Linked DNA regions of Homo sapiens: region 1 is linked to region 2. Evidence: promoter capture Hi-C in human tissues and cell types (Jung and others, 2019). All regions are on one chromosome and are shown on one strand. The core of a region is centred on a gene start or on the middle of the fragment in contact, and the rest is flanking DNA. Distances in the headings are between cores, read along the strand shown.

The links. The method cuts DNA at HindIII sites, captures the fragments that hold promoters and counts their contacts. A contact is called where the count stands out against the background at its distance.
Region 1: a contact is called between the fragment with the promoter of DCTPP1 here and a fragment that was not itself captured in region 2, in 1 of the 25 tissues and cell types used here (dorsolateral prefrontal cortex).

The regions. Positions count from the first base shown.
Region 1 is chr16:30,428,029-30,431,817 of GRCh38, reverse strand. DCTPP1 (dCTP pyrophosphatase 1) reads left to right here and starts at 1,788. Exons shown (of 3, transcript NM_024096.2): 1 at 1,788-1,938; 2 at 2,651-2,761. The coding sequence starts at 1,838. RefSeq lists enhancers at 1,341-1,450, 1,851-1,930, 2,684-3,184, 3,185-3,685. The HindIII fragment of the contact is 14,232 bases long and covers 1-3,789 here.
Region 2 is chr16:29,822,725-29,826,134 of GRCh38, reverse strand. The region is part of intron 1 of MVP (major vault protein); the gene reads right to left. Among named protein-coding and RNA genes, the nearest start is that of MVP, 4.0 kb to the right of the region's middle. RefSeq lists enhancers at 1-551, 738-867, 928-1,007. The HindIII fragment of the contact is 4,985 bases long and covers 1-3,410 here.

The DNA.
Region 1 (3,789 bases), core at 539-3,038, 610 kb before region 2:
CTGAAGCACAGTGGCGCGATCTCGGCTCACTGCAAGCTCCACCTCCCAGGTTCACACCATTCTCCTGCCTCAGCCTCCTGAGTAGCTGGGACTACAGGTGCCCGCCACCACACCCAGCTAATTTTTTGTATTTTTAGTACAGACGGGGTTTCACCGTGTTAGCCAGGATGGTCTCGATCTCCTGACCTCGTGATCCGCCCGCCTCGGCCTCCCAAAGTGCTGGCATTACAGGCGTGAGCCACCGCGCCCGGCCTCAGTTTCCTTATCTTTAAAATGGGGATGACAACAATATTACCTACCATATAGGGTTTTTGTGAGGATTAAATTAGTTGCTATGAGGATTAAATATGTAAAATGCTTAAAACAGCCACCCCAGTTCCAGTTCATTCCTGAGGTCCCACTGTATTCTGGAGACACTCTTGTATCCTTACAATAAATTCCTTGTGGCCGGTGGGGGTGGCTCGTGCCTGTAATCCCAGCACTTCGGGAGGCCAAGGCAGGAGGATTGCTAGAGCCCAATCCAGCAATCCTGGTTCAAGACCAGCTTAGGCAACATGGTGAAACCCTGTCTCTATAAAAAATTTAAAAAATAAAAATAATAGATTTCTTTTTCTTGCTAAAAGCAGTTTAAACTTGTTTCTGTTGCATGTATCCAATCTTAACTGCTGGATAATATCATTTGTATAAATATACTTCCATGTAGCCATTCTTCCGTTGATAGTCATTTTATTTTCAATTTTTTTCACTCTTAGAAACAAAACTGTAATGAACTTCTTGCATGTGTCTCTCTGCACATATTCATTAATTTCTCTAGGGCATATACCTAGAATTGCAATTGTCACAGCCTTGGGATTTTAATTTCCAAAATCTGACTCTGCCTCTTCCTGCGCTTTCTTACGCTTTCACTTCCAGCAAGCTGGAAGCCTCTTTAAACGTGGAAATCAGAGATAGTAGCCCTAATAAGGGTACAATAATAAATCATTCTTTGCAAGACTACACCTGTTCTAGGGTTTCATAAAGATCTCTGCTCCTCCCATGGCCAATAACTCAGTGGTTCTGATTTGAAAGCAGCAACCCTGTGACTCGCCACCTCGCGTATTCCCTGGTGTGAGTGGAGCCTGGAGTTCTCGTGTGTGGGGTGGAGGAGCCGTGCTGGGGACCCATGAGGCTGGAGAGGCCGGCACAGGCCAGACCATAAGGGGCCACGTGTTTCAGGGCAATGTACGTTGCGCTGGGGCCTACTGCCTCCCTTAGGACAGGGATGGGGCGACCTCCATCGTTTCAACCACAGGACACAGCGATGGCGGGGAGCTGAAGTCCTACTGCCGTCTGATCTTACTCCGCTCTTCCCCTTCAATCCCATCCAAATAGTGTGGGGGTTGGCCTCGAGGTTTCTCAACGTCCTTAAGCCCTGATTTAATACCTATGCATAGGGCCTTTCATTTATAGGGTTTTCCACCTGACGGGCCCTCTTCCGCTGCCGTTTCGCTTTGGCGCCCTCTGGCGCCCATAAACGAAGTGACGCGCCTGCGCTTCCCCCACCCTCTGCCCTTCGTCTCTTCCCCAGGTCGAATTGGTACCTCTACCTTTAGACACAGGGCCTAGCGGAAGAATTCCAGGGCCTAAGACTAGAAACGCGCGCTTGAAGCTCCCTCAGATTGGTCCAGTGAGGGAAGGGGAGGGCTGTAGCAAACTCCACAAAAGTCATTGGTCTCTTTCCTCAGGCTCCGCCCCGTGAGGCAATAGAGAACTCCCGTAATTGGTCGGAGCTCTGGAGGCGGGGCTTCGAGCGTGGCTCGTGGGTTTTCCGTGAAGTCGCGGTGCAGCGGTGGGCGGCATGTCTGTGGCCGGTGGGGAGATTCGTGGGGACACGGGGGGAGAGGACACTGCTGCTCCCGGCCGGTTCAGCTTCAGCCCGGAGCCCACGCTCGAGGACATGTAAGCAGGCCTGGCCCAGCTCGGGGTGGGGAAGTCGCCCCTTTCTCCCGCGTTTTGGGGAGGGTTCCTCCACGTGGTCGGGAAGCGGGCTGGCAGCGGGGCTCGGGTCCTGGCTCTGTGGGCTGTCCCTGGGTGAGCCTTCTTACCTCATCTGCAAAATGGGCGCAGCGGTGCACACCTGAGGCAAGGGAAATTGGGTGGTGCCTCCGAGTGGTAACTAGGAACGCCCTTCAGCCTAGCCCTGGGAAGATACCGGCACCAGATACCGCCTCTGCTCTCCAGGCGCCGGGGGTACGAGAGGGGCAAACGAAGTGCTGAGAGGTGGGAGACGTTATTTTTTGCTGGAGGAGGTCAAGAAAGGCTTCTTAGAGGAAGGGTCTGTGGAACTACCTTCTGTAAGAGAAATTGCATTTTGATGTGCGGCGATTCCAGGTGGAGGAAACTGCAGAAGTAGCAGCAGGAGATGGAATAATGAAGAGGGTTTTGTTAGTTTTGGCGAGATGTTAAGGGCAGTTCAGGGGCACGCCCATTTTATAGATGAGGGAACCAAGTTCCGGAAAGAGGAAATGACCTGCACAATACCATCCAATGAATTAGTTGCAGAATCTCCTGGTCCCAGGCCCCATTACATACTACGGGGGTAGCTGCCTCTGGCCCCTGCATCACCCTCTAACCCGGAGACTTGGACTTACACTCCTTTGTCCTATTTCAGCCGCCGCCTCCATGCTGAGTTTGCTGCGGAACGAGACTGGGAACAGTTCCATCAGCCTCGGAATCTCCTCCTGGCCTTGGTTGGGGAAGTGGGGGAGCTGGCAGAACTCTTGTGAGTAGATGGAAAGCTTCCTGGTAGAGTCTGAGTTGTGGGGGAGGGGAGGGGAGCATTTATTTGGTCTTCAAACATTCATGGGTTCAGTTTCCCCTCCTGATTGCTAGGCTCTTTGCTGTTGTTGGGATGCAGAGAGGACTCACGGGTCCCTGCCCTCTAGGGGCACTCAGCCTCCTGGAAGAGAGAGGTGTGAGGTGTGAAAGCATCAGGACAGGTCCCGTCTAGGAAGAAGCAGTGGCAACAACCCTTTTCCCTTCTTTTGTTTTTTGTTTTTTTGGCTTTTTTTTGAGACGGGGTCTCGCTCTGTCGCCCAGGCTGGAGTGCAGTGGCTCAATTTCGGCTCACTGCAACATCCGCCTCCTGGGTTTAAGCAGTTCTGTCTCAGCCCCCCGAGTAGCTGGGACTACAGGTGCCCCCCACCACGCCTGGCTAATTTTTGTATTTTTAGTGGAGACGGGGTTTCACCATATTGGTCAGGCTAGTCTCAAATTCCTGACCTCAGGTGATCCACCCGCCTTGGCCTCCCAAAGTGCTGGGATTACAGGGGTGAGCCACCACGCCTGGCCCAACAACCCTTTTCCTCTGCCTCTGGGGCTGAAAGGAAGGTATTCTGTAGAGGACCTGCCTGTGGCATTCCAGACATGGGAACTACATTTGCAGGGGCAGTGAGGCAAGAAAGGGCAAGTTCAATTCAGGGAGAATCTGACGCTCCTTCATTGTAAGCATCTCAGGAAAAATCAGGGATTTGGGATCTGTTTTCTCTGATGTGTCCCAAGTGCCCAGCGCATAGTAGGCGCTCAATAGGCACACGTTGGATGAGTGATAGGGCTGTGGAGGAGAGGGGTGGGAGTTGAACCCACAAAGATATGATTAGGGCTAGAGTATGATGGAGAGTTTGGACAGAAGACCTGACCAGATATGAGTGTTGGAAAGGTCACTGTGTCTACAGGGTGGATTGGATGGATCACTGAGAGAATGGGGCAGGGGACACCAGAGAGTTGGCTGGTGTAGACCAGGCAAGAGGC
Region 2 (3,410 bases), core at 1-2,500:
TGAGGAATCTAGGGAATATAACCAGTGCTGGGGGCTCCCCACCTGAGCTGGCATGCTGGTTTAAGCCTCAGTTGTTTACTGGTCAGTGGCTTATTTCACCCCAGCTGCAGGGATGGAACAGCAAGTAGGGGCTTTACTGCCAAGTGAAGCTTTTTCCACTGCTCCCTTGGAGGGTTCTCCGCAGGGCCGAAACCTGGCCAGGAAACCAGATGGGAGAAGAGGAAGGGCTGGGGCTGTGAGCGGAGGTATGGACAGGGCTCTGAGGCCCCCCCAGGAAAGATTTGAACTCTAGAAGGCCGTGCAAGGTTGGAAGCAGGCTCTGGGAACAGCCTCCATTTGGTTCATCAGTGGATAATCTCCCCAACACCCCCCACAGCTGAGGCCTCTCCACCATCTGCCGCCCCAGCTGGGCCCAGTCAGGGGGTCTGAATGCCTCGCCCAGCTCAGTGACTCAGCAAGAGTCATCCTCATGGCTGGACTCCTGCCTTGTTCTGAGGCCAAGCCCTCGGCAACTGCCCCTGCATCAGCACCAGGACCCCACCTCACCTCCCTGACCACCCACCTGCCATGCCCTAAACCTGGGCCTTCTGCCTAGACCACCCAGGACAGGTCTTGCCTTCTACCCTCGCCATCTATGGAGGTGAGCCAGGGAAACCCTTTGACTCAGGCAGCACATTGGTGACAAGTCTCAGATTGAGTTTTTTGTGGTTTCCTTCCAGATGACATGCGCAGTTAGAGCATTTTACTTAAAATAGATCAGGGCCCTCAAAAGACAATAGCAAGGATTGTGTTGACCTTTGGAAGGCTCTGCCCAGCCCTCAGGCTTGGCCCCTGCTCCCCAGATCCACTCATCCACCCAACTTCCTTCAGTCTCTGCTTCTGAGACCTGCCCTAGTCGGCTCTCAGTGTAGAGGCCCAGTCTTGCCTGATCACACCTCCCTCAGGTGTCATGAGGCTCCTGCAAGAACCACAGCCAGCTTTCACCCCAAATCCCACCAGGGTCTCTCCCACCATGAGGGTAAATAAGCAGGAACTAAATAGCCTGTCCAAAGCAGAAACCAGGTTCATTGTCTAGTTAAAAGAGGGGCTCTTGCCTGAGAGAGGTGGCTCACACCTGTAATCCCAACACTTTGGGAGGCCGAAGGTGGGAGGATGGATTGAGGCCAGGAGTTCAAGACCAGCTTGGGCAACATAGCAAGGCCCCATCTCTTTAAAGAAAGAAAAAAAAAAAAAAGAGGGAGACCGGATCAGACTCTTGGCTCAAAAGTAAACTTCTGCTACAGCAAAACTTAATAAATAAACGAGTCATGAGTCACTACTTCCCAGAGATCTTCAGGGTCAACTGTGAGTAGCTGATATACTGAATCTCTTTTTTGTTTTTTTTGGAGACTGTAGCCCAGGCTGGAGTGAAGTGGCACAATCTCGGCTCACTGCAACGTCCACCTACCTCCCAGGTTCAAGCAATTCTCGTGCCTCAGCCTCCCGAGTAGCTGGAATTACAGGCACATGCCACCAAGCCTGGCTAATTTTTTGTATTTTAGTAGAGATGGGGTTTCACCCCAGGGTGGTCTCAAACTCCTGAGCTCAGGCAATCTGCCTGCCTCAGCCTCCCAAAGTGCTAGGATTACAGGCGTGAACCACCACACCTGGCCCCTAGTGAGTCTTAAATGGCAATTGACCAAGTGACCACACTGCCTACGGGGTCTGCAGTGAGTAGAGTGGTACCACCTGGAGGCTTGATAGCAACACAGCCTGGGGCCCCACCCCAGAGCCACTGAATCTACTGGCATTTTAACTCGACCCTCAATGACTTGCATGCACATTACAGTCTGAGCAGCTCTGGTCTAAAGCAGACTCTCGGCTCGGGCTGCACACTGGTCATCTGGAAATCTGTTTTTTTTTTTTTTTTTTTTTTTTTTTTTTGAGATGGAGTTTCGTGCTTGTTGCCCAGACTGGAGTGTAGCCATCTCGGCTCACTGCAACCTCTGCCTCCCGAGTTCAAGCAATTCTCCTGCTTCAGCCTCCCAAGTAGCTGGGATTACAGATGTCCGCCACCACACCCAGATAATTTTGTTTTTAGTGGACAGGGTTTCGCCATGTTGGTCAGGCTGGAAGTGATCCACCCACCTCGGCCTCCCAAAGGGCTAGGATAACAGGTGTGATCTGCCGCGCCAGGCCTTCTGGAGACCTTTTTTTAAAGCCACCCATCTCCGGTGATTCTATTTAATTGGTCTGGGTGAGGTTCACCCGTTGCTATTGTAAAAAGTTCTCCCTCATTTTTTTTTTTTTTTTCTGAGACGAGTCTCGCTCTGTCACCCAGGCTGGAGTGCAGTGGCACGATCTCGGATCACTGCAGCTCCGCCTCCCGGGTTCATGCCATTCTCCTGCCTCAGCTGGGATTACAGGCACCCACCACCACGCCTAGCTAATTTTTTTTGTATTTTTAGTAGAGATGGGGTTTCACTGTGTTAGCCAGGATGGTCTTGATCTCCTAACCTCGTGATCCGCCTGCCTTGGCCTCCCAAAGTGCTGGGATTACAGGCGTGAGCCACCGCGCCTGGCCTCTGACTCTTAATATATATCCAGGATTGAGAGCCAGTGGGAAAATGTCACTCCAGCAGGTTTTATCACTGCCAGCATGCTCCTGGGCCACTTACTAGCCTCTGAGCCTTCCTCTCCAGTGAAGTGAGAATAAAAGTGACTGTTGACTAGGCTTGGTGGCTCCCACCTGTAATCCCAGCACTTTGGGAGACCAAGATGGGAGGATCACTTGAGGCCAGGAGTTCAAGACCAGCCTGGGCAACATAGGGAGACCCTGTCTCTATAAAAACCATAAAAAATATTAGCTAGGTGTGGTGGTGCACACCTGTGGTCCCTGCTACTTTGGAGGCTGAGGTGGGAGGATCGCCTGTGCCTGGGAGGTCAAGGCTGCAGTGAGCCGTAAATGGAGCACACGAGTGCGCTCTAGCCTGGGCAAGAGTGAGGCCATCTCAAAAAAAAAAAAAAAAAAAAGAAAAGAAAAGAAAAGGAAAAAAAAATGACTGCTCTTCAAGTCAAAGGTATTAGAGACTGGAGGGTCTCTGGTGCACAGTAGGAACTGGGAGGAGGATAAAGATCAGTTTCAGGCCGGGCGCAGTGGCTGTAATCCCAGCACTTTGGGAGGCCAAGGCAGGCGGATTGCCTGAGCTCAGGAGTTCGAGACCAGCCTGGCCAACATGGTGAAACTTCGTCTCTACTAAAAATACAAAAATTAGCCGTACATGGTGGCAGGCAACTGTAGTCTCAGCTACTCGGGAGGCTGAGGCAGGAGAATTGCTTGAACCAGGGATGCAGAGGTTGCAGTGAGTCGAGATTGCGCCATTGTACTCTGGCCTGGGGGACAGAGCGAGACTCTGTCTCAAAAACAAAAA